Regions from separate parts of the Homo sapiens genome. Here all the other regions are linked to region 3. Evidence: promoter capture Hi-C in human tissues and cell types (Jung and others, 2019). All regions are on one chromosome and are shown on one strand. Each heading gives the region's core, a stretch centred on a gene start or on the middle of the fragment in contact. The rest is flanking DNA. Distances are from core to core; before and after follow the strand shown. Region 1 overlaps LINC02192 (long intergenic non-protein coding RNA 2192). Region 2 overlaps LINC02192 (long intergenic non-protein coding RNA 2192). Region 3 holds the start of ABCC12 (ATP binding cassette subfamily C member 12). Region 4 has its middle 44 kb from the start of LINC02133. Region 5 has its middle 75 kb from the start of LINC02133.

The links. Contacts are between HindIII fragments. The study calls those that stand out against the background at their distance.
Region 1: a contact is called between a fragment that was not itself captured here and the fragment with the promoter of ABCC12 in region 3, in 2 of the 25 tissues and cell types used here (H1 embryonic stem cells and mesenchymal stem cells).
Region 2: a contact is called between a fragment that was not itself captured here and the fragment with the promoter of ABCC12 in region 3, in 1 of the 25 tissues and cell types used here (mesendoderm cells).
Region 4: a contact is called between a fragment that was not itself captured here and the fragment with the promoter of ABCC12 in region 3, in 4 of the 25 tissues and cell types used here (IMR-90 fibroblasts, dorsolateral prefrontal cortex, lymphoblastoid cells and 1 more).
Region 5: a contact is called between a fragment that was not itself captured here and the fragment with the promoter of ABCC12 in region 3, in 2 of the 25 tissues and cell types used here (dorsolateral prefrontal cortex and lymphoblastoid cells).

The regions. Positions count from the first base shown.
Region 1 is chr16:47,854,560-47,859,048 of GRCh38, forward strand. The region is part of intron 1 of LINC02192 (long intergenic non-protein coding RNA 2192); the gene reads right to left. It overlaps LINC02133 (long intergenic non-protein coding RNA 2133), which reads left to right and starts at 4,022. Exons shown (of 6, transcript NR_110650.1): 1 at 4,022-4,489. The HindIII fragment of the contact is 3,351 bases long and covers 648-3,998 here.
Region 2 is chr16:47,873,191-47,877,930 of GRCh38, forward strand. The region is part of intron 1 of LINC02192 (long intergenic non-protein coding RNA 2192); the gene reads right to left. All of the region lies in intron 2 of LINC02133 (long intergenic non-protein coding RNA 2133), which reads left to right. Among named protein-coding and RNA genes, the nearest start is that of LINC02192, 12 kb to the right of the region's middle. The HindIII fragment of the contact is 4,464 bases long and covers 1-3,955 here.
Region 3 is chr16:48,154,390-48,158,684 of GRCh38, forward strand. It overlaps ABCC12 (ATP binding cassette subfamily C member 12), which reads right to left and starts at 1,604. Exons shown (of 31, transcript NM_001393797.1): 1 at 1,452-1,604. RefSeq lists an enhancer at 3,588-4,295. The HindIII fragment of the contact is 12,201 bases long and covers 1,233-4,295 here.
Region 4 is chr16:47,812,566-47,817,075 of GRCh38, forward strand. No RefSeq gene overlaps it. Among named protein-coding and RNA genes, the nearest start is that of LINC02133, 44 kb to the right of the region's middle. The HindIII fragment of the contact is 9,923 bases long and covers 1-4,510 here.
Region 5 is chr16:47,780,934-47,785,558 of GRCh38, forward strand. No RefSeq gene overlaps it. Among named protein-coding and RNA genes, the nearest start is that of LINC02133, 75 kb to the right of the region's middle. The HindIII fragment of the contact is 3,218 bases long and covers 877-4,094 here.

The sequences.
Region 1 (4,489 bases), core at 1,073-3,572, 300 kb before region 3:
CACCTCCAACGCACACAATCCCAACACACACACCTCCAACGCACACACACCACCCCAACGCACACACCCCTCCAATGCACACACACACAACCCCAATACACATGCACCCCCCAACACACACACACAGAATCCCAACACACACACACTCAGCACACACACACCACCTTAACGTACACATGCCTCCAGTGCACACACACGCACAGCCCCAACACATACACACAACTCCAACACACACACACCTCCAGCACACACATACATCCAGCACACACACAACCCCAACACACGCAATCTTGACACACACATCCCAAAACACACACAACCTCAACACAAACCCAACATACACACACCACACACATACCCAACACACACACACACAACCATAACACACATACACATCCCAACACACACCACATACACCACACAGAATCCCAACATACACACAAACAAGCCCAGCACAATCTCAACACACACATACCCAGCACACACACACAACACACATGCACACCTCCAACAGAATTCCAACACACACACACCCAGCACACACATACCCAGCACACACACATCCAACACACACACACAACCCCAACATACACACACACAGAATTTCAACACAGACACACACACACACCCCTGACTGTAACTCTCTACAGTCTGCCTTGTTGAGTGTTGTAACTTAGTGCCAAGCACTATGCCTGGGGTATAATAGATGCTCACTAATTATTTTTAACTAATGAATGCATACAAGGCACCAGGCCAGCACTTTACACACTATTTCTAAATTTCACAAAAAACTTGGGAGACTTGTACATGATCCTTATGCTACAAAGGATGAGATGGATGCTGAGAGGCCTTGTCTGCAGTCAGTCATCAACCTCTGTGAGCTTCAGGCTCTTCCTTGGAGAGTCAGGATAGGGATGTCAACCTTCAAAGTGGGGCTGGAGGAAGCACCAGATGTGCTGGGCACATGGTTGTTTCTTCCCTGCCCTCCCTTCGTGTACCTTACTGGCCCCAGCCCAAGGAGGGCAACACAGAACTCTGGGACCCAGAATCAGCTGGGGACAATCCCCTGTTCTGAGAGGAGGCTGGCTCAGGAGCAGCCAGGGTGGCAGGTGTTAAAGATGGTGGGAGGAGCAGCGAGAGGCCCTGACCCCTGCAGGATGGGTCAAGATGCCCACCAGGGTGGTGGAGGATACAATCACATTCATGGGGAGCACGAGGTATGCCTGAGTCTGGAGCACAGCTTCCCAGCCCCAGGCCCACTTGGAGGTCCCTAGGGCCCAGTGGGCACTAGTGCACCTCTGGACCCATGAGCTTCTGTGTGTGTTGGGGTTGTGTGTGTGTGTGCGCGTGTTCAGAGGCCCCAGTGGGCTGGTGAGGCCGCTGCAGAATCCAGTCCAGCTGGTCTTTTATCTTGCCTGTTCTCCATTATGTGACCTCCTGACATACTGCCTCTGCGGGCAGGGCTACCCAAACACTAGGTGGACATTCTGCCTGTAGCTTTTCCCATGCTTATCGCTCACCTTGGCAAATCCCTTCCCCACAGTGCTCCACTCTACCAATAATAATCCACCCTACATGTGAAGAAACTTTGATATTTAAAACCCTACTCCTCCTTTAAGGCTGGGGCCTCTTTCTCATTTCCCCTTCTCCACCCAGGGGAGCTCATTGCTCCTCTCTCTGCATGCTCATCGCCTCTTTTTTGTGCTGTTTCACACTGCATTTGTGCTGCTCACTCAGCAGGTAAAGTCAATGAGTAAGGCAGCCTTGGTGTAAGGCAATAAGGAATGAAAGGGACTAGGGCAAACCGGAGAGCACACGCCCCACCCCAAAGCAGCAGCCAGTCATCTTGTCAGTTCCTACTGACCTTTGCCATGTAAGAATCTGGCCTCAATGCTGCCACATTTGATATATTTAGAAGAAACCGGAAACATGGCTTTGAATGTGAAATACTAGTCCTATCTTTTCAGTATTGGTAACAAATCCAATTCAGAAAAAAATATAGGGACCAAGCAAACTTGGTCTGTGACCCCCTTTTTATTTTTATCTTACCTAGATGGTAGACTTTTTGAGAGTGAGTCAAACAGGTAGGGCAGAAGTTGCAAATGATGACTTATTCCTCTTTGGAAAGGTTCTACTACCCAGAATTACCAGATGAGCCATGTGTCTCTCAAGAGACCAGGGTCCTACTATTTATTACCAGGTGGGTTTCCAGAAGGGGTCCATATGGGGCTTGAGGAAGCTAGTGCCTGGAGTGCTGAAATGTCCCAGGAATCTTCCAGTCATAACCTGTGACTGCACAGAGCAGTGCCTAATTAATGTCTATGGAATGAATGCACATTTTATGAGACAGCTCACTTATTCTGCAGCTGCAGGGAGATGGGCCATTTTGGCACTCTGATAGGGAGTCCTGGAGAACTGAGCCAAAATTTTAGTTTCTCCATTTGGGGGATGTGAACTTGGGCAAGTTATTTAACGTCTCTAATCCTGTTCCGTCACTTGAAAAATGGGGATAGTAAATAGATATCTTTCATTTTGTTGTGAGATGAGCGATAATATAGTTAAAGACTTGGCACATAGTAGTCAATAACAGCTATTAACATGGGGATCATGTAAGGATATACCCCTAGCCACAGAGGTTGGGTCCTGGATAGGCATGAGACACGGGTAGGGCCACTCAGAGACATGGCCATCCTTTGCTAAGATTTTTGCTGGAAATATTAGTAAAGCAAACCTCACTCTCCTGGGGAGGCTAAACTGGTAAGATGTAGGTAAGATGTTAAGATGTAGGTAATAAAATCGTTATATATACACACATATATATATATGTCCAGCTATACATATATATATATATGTCCAGCTATATATATATATGTCAGCTATATATATATATGTCAGCTATATATATATATGTCAGCTATATATATATATATCAGCTATTATATATATATATGTCAGCTATATATATATATATATGTCAGCTATATATATATATATATAGCTGGACAATGCGAGCTCAACAGAGTGAGATGGGGTCTCCCTTTGTTGCCCAGACTGGAGTACAGTGGTGCGATCATAGCTCACTGCAACCTGGAATGCCTGGGCTCAAGGCATTCTCCCATCTGCACCTCCTGAGTAGCTGGCACTACAGGCACACATCACCCATGACTGGCTAATTTATTTTTGTAGAGACAGGGTCTGGCCATCTTGCCCAGGCTGGTCTCAAACTCATGGCTCAAGCCATCCTTCCACCTTGGTCTCCCAAAGTGCTAGAATTATAGGCATGAACCCCCGCAGCTGGCTGGAAATATTTTTTTGACATTTGGATCCTGCTGTGCCCGAAGCTGAACTACCCCCAAGTGTCTCTATCATGGGAATAGTATGTCTTCTTTCATGCTTAGGTCAATTTCAGGTGGGTTTCTATCATCTGTACCCAAGAGTCTTGACCACTATAAACCTCTCTAAAGGGAAACAGGGGACCAGTGAAGTACAATGAGTTGTTTCTAAATGCCTATACATGGTGGGGATTTGGAGGAGTGATTTCTGTGTCAGCCAGAGGTCTGCATCTGTACAGCTGATAATTTATGGATGGAATACAGTGGCTTTCAAAAGATTCCTATTTATCTCATGTGGAGGGTTAACTGTATGATAGTACCGCCTTCCTGGTCACAACAGGGAAGCAGAGGCAGGGGAAACAGTGTGTTTGTGGAAGCTTGAAGTGAAATTGTTTTTTACAAATTCCTGACTCCAAGACCTTAGGAAGCAGGAGCGTCTCTGTTTTACAAGATTGATATCAAAACCAGAAACAACAAAGGAGCTATGACAATTTGGCAATAAGGTTTGGCAGCCACCTGCTGCCCTTGGCATCTCAGATCACTCTGAAGGACCTGACTCAAGGTAGATGGGTGTCCTTGTCTGTCCTTAGTTGCTCTGATTCCTGATCAGCATGCAGAGTTTCACAAGCCATGACTCAAAGTCAGCCACGAGGGCACAGCAGCCATAACCCTAGCGTCTAGCACCTGGTACAAACCGATGGCATCTCCCAGGCATTTCTGAACCATTTTCACGTGCCTCTACTCTCCGGCCGTCTCCACACCACCCTGTGTTCTGCCAAAGGGAGCTAAAATGAGCCCTGTTTTACCAAACCACTCAAGCACGGCTGACACAGTGTGTTGCTGCAGAAGGATCGGGGTGGGTGGGAGTAGGGACAGTGCAGAGAGAAAGAAAGGAGTGCATGCTACATCTCTCCCTCTCCAAGAGGACTTGGCAGAAAGCCCATGCATGTTTCAAGCTTGTTTTGACAGTTCCATGACAGGAGTCATAGGGCTGTAGCTGTAGAAAGCCCAAGAAACACATTTTTGTTATCCCATCAAAATCTTCCCGGGGAGCTACATTGTTGGGGCAAGTTATGTGTCATCACTGGCATCAAAAGAGAAAAAGAAATGAATGATCTGGCTCAGGTGCCAAGGCTCTCGTCCTGAGGAGGGAAATG
Region 2 (4,740 bases), core at 474-2,973, 280 kb before region 3:
ATGCATAACTATCAAAATAATGCTTTTCAAGTACCATATAAAATACCTGCTGATATTTTACCTCACTGCAAGAAAATACTAGGCTAGAGAAATGAAGCAGGTCCATTTTTGGTAGAAAGGGGAAAATCTTAGAGCCTCAGAGCTGGATGGAGCCCCAGTAAATGTCTAGGTCATGGATTGCAAGCTGTTTTCCCCCACCAATAATGGTCATCCTTCCTCTTTCTTTCTCTCTGTCTCTTTTTTTTTTTTCCCTGGGAACGATGCATAAAGTAGCAAAACGTAGGGCTGAACCCTTTAATGGGCTATCTGTTTCTCTGGAGAAACCCAAAGAAACCCATTCTGCAAACCTCAACCTTCATCCCTTCCTCCCTCTTGTGCCATGCTTGCCCCCATACACAGAGAAGTAGCATCAGTGCCCTCCACCACCCACATCAGCAGCTAGGGGGAGACAGAAGCAAGTCAATGGCCAAGGAGTGGAGGGTGGGCTGGGAGAGTTCACTTAGCTTTGTGACACCAGTGCACCCCCACATTGGATAGCACCCAAGGCCCTCATCAAACATTGAGTGCCATGCTTGTTGAAGCCTGCAAATAATACCCCACGAGCCGCCAACTTCCTTTCCGAGGCACATCTGCCTGGACCTCTGTTCTGTTTGGTGCCAAGGCACTAGGGAGGCTTTAAGGAGCAGGCCGTTGCCTTTCTCTACATGTGCTTCAGGCCTGTCTTACCCTCCCCATGGTCTCCGTCATACTCCTTTCCTGAATATCATTTCTTTCCCTTTCTCCTGCACACAAAAGCTCAACACGGAGTTCATTCTGTGAGCCTAACCTTTTGCTTCCCGCACTTGGGCTGGCTCAAACGCCACTTGCAAAAATGGTAATCTCAGCAGGGCTGAGCTCAGTTCCTGCTGCCCCTTTCCAAGTTTTTGTTTCGTTGCAGAGCTCTAAACCAGTGTCTCCCTCTGTGCTTGGGAGTAAGAGCAGCATCAGACCATTGCAAACCTACTGGATTGGCTGATACTCATTGACTGGATGGAGATTTCAGAGGCAAACCTAGGCTTCTCCAGAGGAAAGTAAGACTTCAATCCCAGTCCTGCCATTTCCTATGAAACCACTTGTAATCTTGGGTTTCTCTTCGTTGTAAAGATAAGAAACGATCTGAATTTCCAAGCTTGGAGTATTGTGGTGAGGACCAATCAGGGAACGCGCATGAGAGTGCCTTGTAAACCTGCCCTGCTGCAGCAATGAGGGCATGGCTTCTGCCAGGCACCTGTAAGCCCTTCCTAAGGGAGTTGAGCAGTTCCCTTAGGGAAAATGTCTTAAATGTTGACTGAATTCTCCCCTCTTCCCAGATCTCCAAATGCCAGTAACTGATTTTGTGGAGGTGGTAGGTAAAGAAATGTTTATGCAAATTGGGCCCTGATTAGATGCAAAAAAAAAAAAAATGTTGACTGCTTTTCGAGGGTGTTCATTGTTATCTGAGAGTTTTGTTTGCACATGAGATGCATACAATGTGATTCACATCATTGGCCTCACCCTGTCTTATTTGCCTTAATGTAATTGTCTGTTCAGATCCACTGATGGTGAAAATTACATTTGTCCTTATCAGTGGAGATACTCTAAAAATGAGAAGTTCAAAGAAGGCAGAGGCTTTAATACAGAGAAAATGTGTTTATTTTCTTAGCTCCTTTGAAACAGTTTTATCCCCTGGAATGGGGTAATTTCTTTGCAGAACAACAAAATGGATGGCTCATGGTAACCCCTCATCAGGGAAAGTGCTAAAAAAAAAGTGGCCTGATTCAGAACATCATCAGTTCAGCAGTGTGTGCTTGAGTAACCTTGGAAGATTTGGAGATTTTCTGAGAAATCCACAATGTGTGCTTGAATGCAAAGGTCATTCCAAGCTCTTCCTATACTGAAATGCTCATGCTAGGAATTGTCCCTCAGCTGGGGAGAATATATAGGAAGACAGAGTTTAGATGTGGAGGAAAAGAGTGAAGTTTTCACCTAGTGGAACAGATTCTTTTTTTTGGTCAAAGTTTATTATTGAAACTCCCTATCTATAGGATTTTTTCAGGTCGGAGTGCAGGGGCACGATCATGGCTCACTGTAGCCTCAATCTCCTGGGCTTAAGTGATCTTCCCACCTCAGCCTCCCACGTAGCTGGACTACAGGGATGTGCCACCATACCCAGCTCATTAAACAATTTTTTTTGTAGATACAGGATCTCACTATGTTGACCAGGCTTGTCTTGAACTCCTGGGCTCAAGTGATCCTCCTGCCTTAGCCTCCCAATGTGCTGGGATGACAGGCATGAGCCACCATACCCAGCCTCGGATTTATAAGGTTTTTGTATTTTTTTTTCTGTCCAGTACAAAACGTTTGGTTACATGCTCCCTTTCAACCTTATTTACCTTCATGAGGCTGTAGCTTTATGTGGAGTCTTCGGCTATCAGATAAGTATAGGTTTCCCAGACTACATAAAATAAAAATAATAGCTAGCATTCTTTGGATGTCCATACGCCAGACACTGTGTTAAAGGCCCAACACATATCATGCCATTTAATCCTCAAAACATCCCTCTGAGCTGGGCTCTATTGCTATTATCCCCTGTGTTTTGAAGAGGGTAAATAACTTTACCCCAGGTGACACAGCTGGTGACTGGGGAGCTGGGACTTGAGCCCAGGTGTGTCCCCGCCTCTATGGCAGTGATCTAATTAACAACGAGGCCAGAACTTCCTGAGCATATGGTGTGGATCAGGCTCACCCAGGAAAGGTTTTGGAAATACAGCAGGTCCTTAAATAATGTCATTTTGTTCAATGCCATTTTGTTATAATATTGATAAGGAAAAGAAATTGATTCCCGTCAGGGGCCACTGTTTGTGTGGAGTCTGCAAGTTCTTCCAATACCTGTGTGATTTTTTCTGGATACTCTGGTTTCCTTCCACATCCCAGTCGTGCACGGGAGGCTCACTAGTGCGTCTCCTTGTCCCATTTGGAGTGAGTGCGGGTGTGTGTGCTTTGCCATGGGACGGCCTCTTAGCCAGGTCAGTTCCTTCCTTGTGCTCTGAGCTGCTGGGATGGGCTCCTGAAATCCTTAACTGGAATAATTGGGTAAATAATTATCTTACTTGTTTTTAATTAATCTTTCTTAATGTATGGATAGTTCAATTTATTTCAGTGTTTAATATCAGAAGTGTTTTGGGTTTTTTTCTAGAGGTTTGGTGATGTTTCTGTGACCAGAAACATAGGAGCTTAACTCTTACTTCTATCAATTAGCCTATGGTAAAATCGGTTTCGTTATATATTGTTTTGCTTAAAGTTGCAGCATCCAAGAACATATTGGCGACGTGAAGTGAGGATTTGCTGTACAGTGAAATAATGATGAAGTGTCGCTGGAGGCGAAGCCTGGGAGTGTGTGCTCTGAGATGGTCCTGCCCAGCTTTGGTTAAGACCATGCCCCGGGCCATGCAGGCTGGCATTCCATAAACTTGCCTGGCTCCTAGAATAACCCAGAGGCATTTGCTGTAATACATAATACGTAGGTTCCTAGGCTCCACTTCAGAGCTCCTGAGTCAGAAAAACCCCAAAAGCACCCGGGACATTTATTTGAATAAAGCACTTGTCTAAGGCACTTACCCAAGGACCATTCATCCAAAGGTGCTCAGCACAAATATATTGAATAAACTAGACCATTCATATGGAAGGTCACTTTTGAATTTGTTGTGGAAAGTGCTTTGGACTAAGACCTGGCTTCCCCTTCTGTTCTGCCCTAATCTGCTGAGCAGCCTCTGGCAAGTCACTTCCTCTCTTTGGACCTCAGTTTTCCCACTGGTAAAATGAGAATGGCTGAGGTGACCCTTTCTGGCTCTCACGCCTTTGAATAGCATGAATATTTATTGAGTGCACCTTTATAAGAAACATCCAAACACAGGGCTGCAGGCTTTGATTTGGATCTCCCAGCACTAATGTTTGAGGCAAAACACCTTAATTTGCTGTGAAACAGTGAATCTTTGTGGACAGGAGTCCTTTTTATCTAACGATTGATAAAGCAGGCATCTCCTCCTTCTGGGTAAACACTGAAGACATTACCTAACCACTTCATCCTGTGTGATCCCAAGATGCAATTGTTCCCCTCCACATGGGAAAGGCCAAAGGGACAGACAAGGCAAGTAATAAACATGCCTTAACTTGAAGAGTCCTTCAGTTTCCCAACTCCTTCCACACCTGTGGCCTCATCTGACTTCAACACACAACTGTAAGGTGGGCAAGTCAGGAGCGTTACCCTCATCTGGTCAAGGAGGCGCCCCAGCTCTTTCAAGTCAAGCTGGAGCTGCATTCTCAACTTCTCCAATGTGGGTGTGTGTTCCCCTGAAGAAGTTGTTTGTGAATGAGAGAAGGGAGCTTGTTGGTTCACCCTCAGCACCTAGAACCATGCCTGGCATTCAGCACTAGTAATTACCTGCTGAATGAATGAATGAGTCTGGTCCTCATTCCCTGATTATGACCTCTCAGGAAGTTTAAAGAGGTGCAAGGTGGTCTGTGGGTGTTTAGAGAATCACTTTTATTGCCACAGTCATTTTTATTGTTCTCATGTCTACCGTTAAACTCTACATTTTAGGATGCTGTTGAAAGGCTGTTGAGAACAGAATTTCCTAGTGTGAAAGTTATTAGAGAAATAAGATCAAATGGCTGCTATTCACCCTTGAGAAATTTCTATCTCTGTATGGTAGGTGGGAAAAG
Region 3 (4,295 bases), core at 354-2,853:
GGCTTCTGGCTTTCGTCAAATATCAAGAGCTCTGTATGTTCATGTGGTGACAATCCACTTACGTTGAGCACGGCAGCCCCTCCTGGGCAGGGTATACATGCTTTAGTTTGCCACAATCCCCACCACTCCTTACTGTCTCTGTGACTCTGAGATTTGGGGTCATGTAACATTTATTATTGCATTGGCACTGCTGTCTTCCTTATAGTGTTTCCTGAGGCCTTTTTCTCTATCCTTGTCTCTGCCCCAAGAGAGAACAAAAGATGTCTAGAAGTCATCTCAAGAAGAACCATTTTCCACACCTGCCCACTTTGCTCTGTTATATTTCATTTCTGCCCCTGTCTAGCCCAGAAAATTAACAACTTTATGTTTGAGAACTGGACTCTGGGTCTTCCTTGGTGCTCATGATGGGAGTTCCTCCATCAACCAAAAGCAGGCACACCTTTAGTCATAAAATTTTTCCCAGGTATGAGACTACAGCCCTACTTCTTTCTTAATAAATCCATTGTTAATTTAAAGCCACCAAAGTTATCAATATCTGATGGTCTCCCCCAACTCCCACAGCCCCTTCCTCCAGGGCCTGACTGGCCTCCAGCACAGAGGAGACACTGGGGAGCTCTCCCAGGCCCTGCCTGCACCGCACCTCTCCTGTCTGTCCCCAGGTCCCAGGCACCTGTGGCAGCCAGATCAGAAAGCCCTGTGAGTGATGAGGGACTGGGGTTGGGAGGCAGGGAGAGGCAGAGAGGTGGCAGAGGGAAGTGCATGCAGGGGACAGCACCAAGCTGGGGGTGTGGGAAGGGAAGTGGGGGTGCTTTTGCTCAAGTACCCTCATCTCCCAGAAGGCCTAAAACAGTGGCCAGTGATGGCATCTCCAAAAGAGGTCATCCATCCAGTTACAGACACATTCCGACACGATCAAAGAAGGATGCAGAGCCTGGATTCAGAGCAATTCAAATCTACCCTCCCAGGAAAATAATATATTTAAAAGTTAAAAAAAAAAAAAAAAGAAAGAAAGATGAAAACCTCATATGAGAACTGCAGTAAAGCTTTCCAGGTCTTTTTTTTTGGGGGGGAGGTATAAATCCCATAATTAAATTGTGAACACTACCCTGTATATGTGTTTGTGTTTGTGCATGTGTGGGAAAAGACTTAAAATATTCAATGTAGGCTTTTGTATTTCAGAGATTTTGAAATCGCGTCTTGGCATTTCTGCCTTTTCTTTTATGATAGCGGGGGCTCCAAAAGTGGAAGAGGGGCTGCCTTTCTTCTGGGAGCCTCGTCCCTGCTGCCTCCCACTTGGGCAGCCCCATTCAGTGGTGTCACCTCCCCCAAACCCCCCACCACACACACACACAGCCTGTCCTGAGGATGAGAAACAAAGGCCCTTGGGACTAAATGGTGGCCACTAATTGTTACAGGGAGAAGCTTTACCTGGGCTGGAAATGAAGCTTTACCTGGGCTGAGGATGAGAGGGAGGGGAGGAGGGTCAGCAGTCATGGGGCTCAGAGCCTGGCATCTGCTGCCCAGGACTCCAGGGCCTGCTTCTCCCCAAGGACCTCAGATTCAGTTTCTCTTGTCCCACCCGCCTGAAGTCCTCCTCTCCAACTGCCCCATTCAACTGCCACTCCCACCACACCTGAGAGGGAACTCTGGCGGGCCAACATTCCCTCTGCCCACATTAAAGGGCTCTCCCCTCTTCCAGGATGGCCTGTGGCCGGGTCTGGCTCTTTGGTGACAGTCAGAGCCCATGCATGAAAGCACTGTGCATGGCCAGCCCTTCCCTGGCTGTCACAGCACATCCTTGTAGAAGAGAAGGAGAAAAATCCTCTCTCCAACCGTCATTCTACAGACGAGAAGCCCAAGGAACAGAAGCCTGTCCACGACTGGCGTGGGGCTGAGACCAGCACCCAGGTCCCCTGAGTCCCACTCCAGGCTCCTTCCTGAGAGAATGCATCGAATTTTCTACGCTGTGTTCCTGCAACCGGGAATCAACTTTGGGATCAGGGGAAGGGAAGGGAGGGGAGGGGAGGGCAGGGGTAGGGGAGGGCAGGGGTAGGGGAGGGCAGGGGAGGCGAGGGGAGGGGAGATGAGCCTCATCTTCAAAACAGAAAATCTCATTCATTCATTCCCCATTCATTTAACGAAAAAGAAAAGGGTAATTTGAGCTCAATTTGTCTTGAAATGAACGGAAGGTAAGTCTGAGACCTGCACTAGCAGCTAGCCCTTGCATAGAAAAGTTCCCCTGTGTCACCCTTGGAACCCTGCACATCCCGAGCGCAAGCGTGATTCCCGGGGTCCCTTCTGCGCCTGTCCCAGAACAAGCGCCCGATTTCAGGGGAGCCCAGCCGAAGGGTTCCACAGCGCTCAGCGAGCCGGCTGGGAGGGAGCAAACTCTCTAACTGCAGAAAAAAACAAATCTTGATTCCGCTTTAAGGGTTATTTAAACATCTTAGAGGACCTTCCCAGCCTCACGCACGTGGATTTCATGAGGAACTTGGCCGCTACCTTCTCCTGTCCTGCGCAATGCCGCCCCCTGCTGGCTGCCTTCCGGCCCCGCCGCTTCCTGGAGATGCGAATTCACCGCCTTTGCCCAACCTGAGTTCCCTTCCTACCTAGAGGGAGGTGGAAATGGAGAGGGGCTGTGGGCAGCTGTGTAGGAAAATGGGTCCTCCCAGGAAGGCTCCCCGGCCTGGGGAGTGAGCTAGACCGACAGCAGTTTCCTTACACGTGTCCAAAGTGTTCCATTTAATTTCCGTCCATTCTTCCCTTCATGAATGCAAATCACTGCTAATAATATCACTCGACATTTCTGGAGCCCTTTGTGTATCGCAAAATTCTTCATCCTCTTTATCACTTGATCTTCGCAACAACCCCGGGGGTCTCATAAACACAGCAAAGACTCGCTTCCACAATCTTCCAAACGGAGTCAAGTGCTGTCAAGTTTATGGAGGAAGAATGCCGATCAGTTTTCCTCTATCTCCATGAAAGGCTGGGCGGAGATGGATTTCCACCCAGACAAACAGTATTGGGCGCTACGCAAGAAGATTGGTGGGCCTAGCCGGAAACAGAGTGGAGAATGATGGAGAGGGACTGTCCGGTCTGTATCCAAGGAAGTCCTTAGGAAAAGACCAGCCAAGCTCCTGTTCCAGGCAGAGCGTGGACTCACCCATAGTCAGGGAACTGAGGCCCATCCTGGGTGTACACACAGCTCGCGGGGGGGCGAGATAATCCACTGGAATACAAAAAGAAAAAAAATAGAAATCCTTTTCATATTTCTCCTCTTCCTTTAAAAATTCTATTTTGGCTGTGTGCAGAGGCTCAGGCCTATAATCCCAGTACTGGGGGGCCAAGGCAGGTGGATCACTTGAGCCCAGGCATTCAAGACAAGCCTAGGCAACATGGTGAAACCCCATCTCTACTGAAAATACAAAAATTAGCTGGGCGTGGTGGCATGTGTCTGTAGTCCTAGCTACTTGCGAGGCTGAGGTGGGAGTATGAATTGAGCCAGGGAAGTCAGGACTGCAGTGAGCTGTGATCGTGCCACTGCATTCAGGCCTGGATGATGAGAGTGACTCTGTCTCAAAAAAAAAAATTGTGTACAGTGATATACATGTGTAGGGGAGAAAAAGTGTGATACTTTTCCTCACCAGTCATGTGGGTCATGGCTGACACTCTTGTAACAAAAGGCAGACTAACAAAAGGAAAGCATAACAATTTTATTTCATCAAAGTTTAATGTGACATGTGAGTCTTCAGAAATGAATACCGAAAGGCTCAGGAAGAACTGTCCATTTTTATGCTTAGACTCAATGAGGAATGGACAGTGGTATAGAAATGCGATTGGACAGAAAGTTCTGATTAACTGTAATGGACCGAGGTGATGGGATGGGGACCCAGCAGGGCCTGTCTGTTCAGATTCTTCTTGGCCTCTCTGCACAGCATTTCTTCTTTCTAGGTATGGGGCACGACCCCTCTGGAATGAGGGTCTTAGGACCTACTCTCAGACAAAGTTGGTCAGAGAATTTCTTTACGGCCAGCTCCTGTGCAGAAGGGTGGAGGAAAGTTTGAGTCATAGTTTTAGGTTCTATCGGTGGCTTTGGGGGAAGAATTTCTATGACTCACCTTGGGGAAGGGGAACTCTGGTTTCTATGACTCACCTCATGGGAGAAGAGGTGCACAAGGGGTGCAGGAGGGCAGGAGAAGGTCAGAGAGAACTTGCTTCTGAGGCTGCTTCTGAGGTCATCCAAACTCCATCAGTTCAAAGTACTCAGCCTGCCAAAGTGCCATACTTTGGGGTAT
Region 4 (4,510 bases), core at 646-3,145, 340 kb before region 3:
GAATGTTTTCTAACTTGGTTCCATTCTCCCCGTCACTTTCAGGTACACCAATCAGACGTAGATTTGGTCTTTTCACACAGTCCCATATTTTTTGGAGGCTTTGTTCATTTATTTTTATTCTTTTTTCTCTAAACTTATCTTCTCACTTCATTTCATTCATTTTATCTTCCATTGCTGATACCCTTTCTTCCAGTTGATTGCATCGGCTACTGAGGCTTGTGCATTCGTCACGTAGTTCTCATGCCATGGCTTTCAGCTCCATCAGGTCCTTTAAGGACTTCTCTTCATTGGTTATTCTAGTTAGCCATTAGTCTAATTTTTTTTCAAGATTTTTAACTTCTTTGCCATTGGTTCGAACTTCCTCCTTTAGCTTGGAGTAGTTTGATCTTCTGAAGCCTTCTTCTCTCAACTTGTCAAAGTCATTCTCCATCCAGCTTTGTTCCATTGCTGGTGAGGAGCTGTGTTCCTTTGGAGAAGGAGAGGCACTCTGATTTTTAGAGTTTCTGGTTTTTCTGTTCTGTTTTTTCCCCATCTTTGTGGTTTTATCTACCTTTGGTCTTTGATGATGGTGATGTACAGATGGGTTTTTGGTGTGGATGTCCTTTCTGTTTGTTCGTTTTCCTTCTAACAGTCAGGACCCTCAGCTGCAGGTCTGTTGGAGTTTGCTGGAGGTCCACTCCAACAAACTCCTGGGTATCAGCAGCAGTGGCTGCAGAACAGCAGATATTGGTGAACCGCAAATGCTGCTGCCTGATTGTTCCTCTGGAAGTTTTGTCTCAGAGGAGTACCCGGCTGTGTGAGGTGTCAGTCCACCCCTACTGGGGGGTGCCTCCCAGTTAGGCTACTCGGGGTTCAGGGACCCACTTGAGGAGGCAGTCCGCCTGTTCTCAGATCTCAAGCTGCATGCTGGGAGAAACACTACTCTCTTCAAAGCTGTCAGACAGGGATATTTAAGTCTGCAGAGGTTACTGCTGCCTTTTGTTTGTCTGTGCCCTGCCCCCAGAGGTGGAGCCTACAGAGGCAGGCAGGCCTCCTTGAGCTGTGGTGGGCTCCACCCAGTTTGAGCTTCCCAGCCACTTTGTTTACTACTCAAGCCTCAGCAATGGTGGGCGCCCCTCCCCTAGCCTCACTGCTGCCTTGCAGTTTGATTTCAGACTGCTGTGCTAGCAATGAGTGAGGCTCTGTGGGTGTAGGGTCCTCCGAGCCATGTGCGGGATATAATCTCCTGGTGTGCCTTTTGTTAAGCCCATTGGAAAAGCGCAGTATTAGTGTGGGAGTGACCCAATTTTCCAGGTGCTGTCTGTCACCCCTTTCTTTGACTAGGAAAGGGAATTCCCTGACCCCTTGCACTTCCCAGGTGAGGCGATGCCTCTCCCTGCTCACTGCTCACGCACAGTGCGCTGCACCCACTGTCCTGCACTCCCCAGTGAGATGAACCTGGTACCTCAGTTGGAAATGCAGAAATCACCCATCTTCTGTGTCGCTCACGCTGGGAGCTGTAGACTGGAGCTGTTCCTATTTGGCCATCTTGGCTCCACCCCACAGGGCACTCCAGACAAGTTTTAAAAAATCATGTTGAGCTTCTTTTTTTCTCTCTAGGATACTACATTATGGAAAAAATTTGTTAAATACCTGTTAGGTGTTATCCACTTTTTACAAAGGAGAAAAAAGACATAAAATGGGGTTAAGAAATTTGCTTAAGGAGACAGAGGTGGCATGCATTAGAATCTGAAGTCAAAGTCAGATTGCTTGGATTCCCCATCTGGCTTTCAGGACTATCCTGCCCCTACATGACCTTTAGAAATGGTGTTTCTCTCTCGGTGCTTTGAACTCCTCATCTATAAAAGGCAGATTCAGGTAAATTGCCTACATACCTCAAAGGCAGGTTCTGAGGATAAAATAAATAGGTAAATCTGAAAGCACATTGAAAAATGTTACAAGACATGGGGAAGACAAAGGAAGAACTTCTCCCCTTTGTTGTTATTGATGTTGATTTGTTTTTCTCCAAATTCATTTTTTTCAATGTCATTTATTTAATTATTATTATTATTTCTTTTTGGACAGAACCTCTCTTGCCCAGCCTGGAGTGCAATGGCATGATCTCGGTTCACTGCAACCTCCGCCTCACTGGTTCAAGCAATTCTCCTGCTTCAGCCTCCCGAGTAGCTGGTGCTATAGGTAAGTGCCACTACGCCTGGCTAATTTTTTGTATTTTTAGAAGAGACAGGGTTTCACCATGTTGGTCAGGTTGATCTTGAACTCCGGACCTCAAGTGATCTGCCCGCCTCAGCCTCCCATAGTGCTGGGATTACAAGCATGGGCCACTGTGCCCGGCTAATTTTTGTGTGTGTGTTTTTGTTTTGTTTTGTTTTTTGTTTTTTGTTTTTTTTTAGCATAGACGGGGTTTTGCCATGTTGGCCAGGCTGGTCTTGAACTCCTGACTTCAAATGATCCACCCACCTCAGCTTCTCAAAGTGCTGGGATTACAGACATAAGCCACTGTGCCTGGAGTATTTTTAATTTTAGATCCAGAGGGTCCGTGTGCAGATGTGTTGCACAGGTGTATGGTATAATGCTGGGGTTTGGGCTTCTATTGAACCCACCACTCAGACTGTGAATATAGTACCCAATAGGTAGTTTTTCAAACCTTGACTCCTTCCCTCTGTCCCTCATTTCAGAGTCCTCAGTGTCTATTGTTTCCATCTTTACATCCATGTGTACCCATTGTTGAGCTCCCACTTATGAGTGAGAACATGTGATACTTGATTTTCTGTTTCCACATTAATTCACTCAGGATAATGACCTCCAGCTGCATCCATGTTGCTGTAGAGGACATGATTTTGTTCTTTTTTATGGCTGCATACTATTCCATGGTGTAGCTGGACCACATTTTCTTTATCCAATACACTGTTGTTGGGTACTTAGGTTGATTCCATGACTTTTCTATTGTCAACAGTGTGATGATAAACACGAATGTGGATGTCTTTTTGATAGAGTGATTTCCTTTCCTTTAGGTAGATACCAAGTAGTTTGATTGCTGAGTTTAATGATAGTTCCATTTTTTGTTCTTTGAGAAATCCTCCATACTGTTTTCCATGGGGTTGAATTAATTTACATTCTCACCAAAAGTGTATAAACATTCCTTTTTTTCCATGGCCTTGCCAACATTTGTTATTTTTCACTTTTTAATAATAGCCACCCTGACTGGTGTGAGATGGCATCTCATTGTGGTTTTAACTTGCATTTTTGTGATGATAGTGATGTCATCACTCCAAATTCTTGAGTGTTAATTGGATGGTCCCACCACATGATTTCTCAGATCTACCACACTATGAACTACAGTGTGAACTACAAATCTACTATGAGTGTGAACTACAGTGTTCTGAAGAAACACATGTATGCATATATGCATTTGATCTGAAGAATCCTGTGGTAAGACAAGGATCATGCCCTTGTATTTCAGGGCAAACTTGAGTCTTCTGTGGACTTATTGGCCAGAGCTGGTGAATGAGCTGCTCTATACAGCAGAGCAAGCGAGGGGCCGAGCTTAAGAAAATCTTGGAATCAGTGCTGGGGGTGTATGCTGGGCAGGTTCCTGGGGCTTGGGGTATAAGGGGAGAGGATTCTGTAGATTTCCTTGTCGGCTCTTCCTTCACTCCTACACTGCCACCCACCTCTCTGAAGCACCTTTTCACTTTCTCAGCCTTGGATTTTGTGCTACTCTCTTTTTCTACAGTACCCAACTCCAGAGTGACATACATCAAGAGAGGGAAGAAGAAATCACAGCAATCCCATGTTGTTATCTAAACATTTTCTTGATTTGGTTATTGTACATGTACTTGCAACAATTTTTAACTGTTGATATTTATGTTGCATAAATAATTGAATGGCTTATAAGGGGCACTAAGAAAGACTTCGAACAGTCAAGTTCACCTGCAAATGCATGCTTCTAATGAGCTGAAGCTGACTGATGGGTCTATAGGTGTTCATTAGATCAGTGGTCAGTATACTATTTTTTAAAGGGCCAGATAGTAAATATTTTAGGCTTTGCAGGCCATATGGTCTCCATCACAACTATTCAGCTCTGCCATTGCAGCATGAAAGCAGCCATAGACAATATGTAAATGGATAAATGTGGCTGCATTCCACTAAAACTTTATTTACAAAAACAGGTGGCAGGCCAGATTTAGCTCATGGGACAAAATTTTCCAACTCTGCCTTATTCTATCTAGTTTAGTAGATGTTTCAAAATTTCCATGATAAACTTTAAACTATTTGTGCTTGAAGTTATATGTGACAATTTCTTAAGGAGTGAGATTGTAATTATAAAATTATTACCCTATATTGCTATGCACAGAGTGAATAGTCACTCAATGACAGTAATTACTTTTTGGTAAAAACAAGCTTTTTCCTTGTGAATGAGATAGAATATTTGGCAATTATCTAAAAAATGTTGGAGATAACTAGACAGAGTTTCTGCAAACTCTGGGTTAAAAAAAAGTACCCTAAT
Region 5 (4,625 bases), core at 1,236-3,735, 370 kb before region 3:
CTAGGGTCTCTTTTTAAAGAGCACTAATCCCAGTCATGACCTGATCACTTCCCAAAGGCCGCTAATACAATCACTTTGGGGGTTAACTTTCAACATATGAATTTTGAGTTGGGGGCACAGACGTTCAGACCATGGCAGTAGGTTTTCAGTTCTCCTGAGACTGTGCTGAAGAGTGGAATTTCTGGGTTGTATGGTAACTCTGTGGTTCATGTTTTGAGGAACCACTCCTTTTTTTTTTTCTCATTTAACATGTAAGGAAATGGAGGCTTGGATAGTTTAGGTCAACTGGCAAATGCAGCTAGTAAGCCAAACTGCTGGGAGTCCAGGCCAGCAGTTTTCACCCGGACCCCGTGCACGGAACTCCTCCATCACACTGACTTGCCGTGCATCCGGAAGGACTGGAAGTTATTTTGGTGAATGGGGGCAGGAAGGACTCCTGGGAAGATGTGTTACATCCTAGAAGTATGGGAGGACTTTTTGCATTTATGTGGGAGGAGAACAACTAGACCATGCATTTTGTGGGATGAACTGACAGAACAGAGGTTGAAGGAGCTGTTCCTTGAAGGGCCTTGCATACCATGCTCAGGAATTGAATGCAGAAAGATTTTAAGCAGAAGCGTAAGTATGAAAAATATATGCATGTAAAAGAAAAATGAAACCCAACCTCATATGAAAAGGCAAACACAGAGGAAAAAATATTTGCAGCCACATGACATTGGGTTAATAGCTTTGTTATATAAAGGACTCTTAAAACTGATGATGAAAACATTTAAACCTAACTAGATAAATGGGCAAAGGACATGAACAGATGATTCACAAAATAAGAAATGCAAAGCAGTAAACAAACATATGGAAACATGTTCAACTTCTAGTATAATCAAAGACATGCAAATTTAAACAACAGTAAGGGAAGCAATTCTTTGCCTATCAGATTAGCAAATGTTTGTCAAAATGATAATAGTCGATTCTGGCAAGAGGGAGCTATAAGAGAGGAATTCCCGCGCATCCTTGGTATGTTCAAATCCCGGATGCCAAATGCTCCCTTCCTCGTAGCTCTGTAATTCTGATCTGGCAATTAGTTCCCTCAGAAGCTCCATCTACATACTGTTTACAATAAAGACAAAAATTAGAAACAAGAAGGCAGAGGGTGTAGGAGACCAAAGTTCAGCGCATCATCTACATGTGAACGTCAGGGGGGTCACTCTAGCCCTGACATCTCAAGGAGCTCCAGAACTATGCAAGTAAAACTTTATTGTTTTATCCAAACTTGCTTTGCCACACTGATTTTTTCTTTCTTTCCAACTTTTAGTTTAGGTTCAAGGGGTACAAGTGCAGGTTTGTTATGTGGATAAATTGCATGGAGTGGGGATTTGGTATACAGATCATTTTATTACCCCGATACTCAGCATAATACCCGATAGGTAGTTTTTCTATCCTCACCCTCCTCCCACCCTCCACCCCCAAATAGGCCCTGGAGTCTGTTTCTCCTTCTTTATGTCCATGGATACTCAGTGTTTAGCTCCACTTATAAGTGAGAGCATGTGGTATTTGGATTTCTCTTCCTGCATTAATTCACTTAAGATAATGGCCTCCAGCTCCATCCATGTTGCTGCAAAGGACGTGATTTTATTCTTTTTTTTTTGTGGCTGTGTAGTATTCCGAAGACCACTCCCATTCTTAAGTTTCCTTAACAGTATCACTGGCTGAATTGTAATCCATTTCTCTCCTCCTCTTTTCCTTCATTTAATCTATTCCCCTCAAATTTTATAGTTATACCCCAGAAAGCCCCTTGAATCTGTTCTCTCACCTTCTTTCTAATTGCCATTGCTTTAAACCATCCCTTATTTTCTCACTCCTCAATTATTTCCAGAGCCTCCTCTCACAGGCTGTATCTCCTGTCTCCTGTCCCAGGGGGTATGGAGTGAGAAGGAAGGGGAAGTATCAAGGAAGAGACACAATAAGGCCTTCAACAGTATCTGTATGCTTTTATTTCTTATTTTTAGAATATCTGAAGCAAATATCCCAAAAGGGTAGGATTTATTGAATCTATTATATTAACCAGATATTCAGTACATTCTCTAAATTTGGAGTATTTAATAACAAAATGTTTCGCATCTCTTGTCTGATCTCCTATTTGGAAATTCCCCTTTATTCTCTTTCTTCTTTCACAATTCCTTTAAATATTTTAATAATAAGTAAATCTGATTATGTCACCCTTGACTTGAAAATTTCCATTAGCTTAGCTTTCTGTTTCTTACAGAATAAAATCCAAACTCATTAGCTTGACACAACGGGCTCTTCATACCCTATACCCAAGCCATGCTACACTTTATAGTTCCCCAAACCCTAACCTAAATGACTCTAGCCCCTACCCCGCACCTCTGCACATACCCTGCCTAGCACATCCACTCTCCAGCTCCCCATCTGGCAGCTCTCAACCCACTTTTCAAAGTCAAGGTCAAGCATCTCTTCCAGAAGAAAGCTTTCTCTGATGTTCTCAAAGCAGAGTTTGGTCATTCCTTTCTTTAGCTTCTCAAAAATATTTTGTTCATGACATTTATCATTGCTTTTACCACACTGCTTTGAAATTTGTCTTCATTGTTTCCTGTAATAACAGATTGTGAGTTCTGCAAGGACAGGGCTGGTGTCCTATTCATCTTGCAAATCCCAGGCTGAGTGCAGTGCCAAGAACATTGGGAGCCCTGTGAGTGCCATTAGAATGGAGGAAAGAGGAGAAGCAGAGAGTCCGTGTGCACCAGAACAGGTTTTTCCCTCCTCAATGGAAATAAGAGTGCAGACCAAAGTTTGTGTAGACTCAGTTTGGATGGCAGGTAGAGCCAAGCCAGTGAACAGAGAGTACTGTTGGAAGAGAACCTATTCCAATGGCAGAAGGCAGGATGGAAATGTTGAAAGTTTGAGGGCATTCTGTGAGGGCAGACGTGCATCCTGGACCAATCAGGCATACCCCTGGCCTTCAGTGATACAGAAAATGTGGTGGCTTGATGCTCAGATCTGCTTTAGATTTGAGGCATCTGTTCCCTTAGCTGCAGGGAGTGTGGCAACCAACCACTCTTGGTTGAGTAGCTTTGTAGGACTTGCCCTCAGCCCAAGAAAGCCACCTCATCTAAGTTCATGCCCCTTCCTGAGGTCAATGACTGGGCTGGCCAATGAGGGATGCAAAGGTCCAGCCTGCTTGCCTCCAGGCTGGGCAACTAAGGGTAACTCTAGCACCAGAGCTCCACATGGGATCATTTGAGGCTTTTTTGTTTCTGCAACAAAGTTCACCTTTTCCCCTTACCCATTTCTGCTTTCTTCACTGTCAAACAGGTGCTAATTCCTAAGTCACTCTTTAATAAACTTCTGGCATGAAAATCTCCATCTCAGTCTGTTTCCCAGAGAACTGACCTAAGACAAGTGATGTTGCAAGCGTTTATGTTTCTATTCCAATCTTTTTACTACGTTGGAAAATGCTTCCTTATACACAGCTACCAACATTCGCTCCCCAAATTTTTGAAGTTTTTTTTTTAATCATTTTGTTATTGGTCCGAAGGTTACTGACCAATGATCCCACCTCCTCTTCTTAAGACCTGAGTAAATGTTTTCTTGTTTTTGTTTTTGTAAAGATTGCTAAAGTGTCACTTATTTACTTACTTGAGTTGCATTATATTTCATCATATAGAGGTTTGAAATTAAAACAAATTGGCATTGAACTAGGAAGGTATAGACAACTTCGATATTTGGTTCCCCTCTCTATTAGCTAAATTGTTAGGGAAAAAACCTTTTAAAACTTCTTAGAATACTCCAATTTTAAAGGAAAAATAACTTTGACCAGACATATTTTTATTCCCAGTGAGTTGACTTTGAGGGATGAAGGCCTGTCTATATGAGCTGAGTGATAGGCTGTGGTTTGAGGGAGCTGGCTATAAAGTATGTTTGAGATTTTTAATTCGTGGGTTGGAATGCCAATTGTTTATTTGGAACAGCAAAGGCTGAGATGGTCAAACATCCAAACATGGTGGTATGTGCCCTTGAATGGCCCGTTTCAACAACGGGCTTTGCTTTGAGGATGTGTGTGGCTATGGTGTTGCATTGGAAAGAAGATAGAATTTGTGGGAGGAAACTTTGGAAAGCTGTCAGAAAATGAGACCCTCCTTCCTCCCTTTTCTCTTTAGAATGAACTTTAGTCCATTTTTCTCAATCCTGCCTGGGACTTTGTCCTCATTTTTGAGCCCCAATCCAACAGGGTCCCTTCTCTCCAGCAGTCTCTACAGTTCTGCTCCTTCACCCATATCCTATTCATGTCATGGCAGATTTTCTATGTGTTCTGCAACAGATTGTTTCATAGAATTGTTTTTTAGTATTTGTGAATTCATTTGGAATGCAGACATTGCAATCATGGGTAAGATTGACTATTAGGAGAAATACTCTCTCCTCCCCTCCCTTGGAGCAATTGAATAGCATGCCACACATCAGATCAAACGAACAGGCTTTAGCTTCATTGGTAAACAGTTTACACTGCAGAGCTACTGCCATCTTGCCAAATCGCCTAAGAATTAGATATGGATTCCAGCTCACCTTGCTAATTAATTCAGAATGAGAAGATATTCCAAAAAGCAACATTCTTT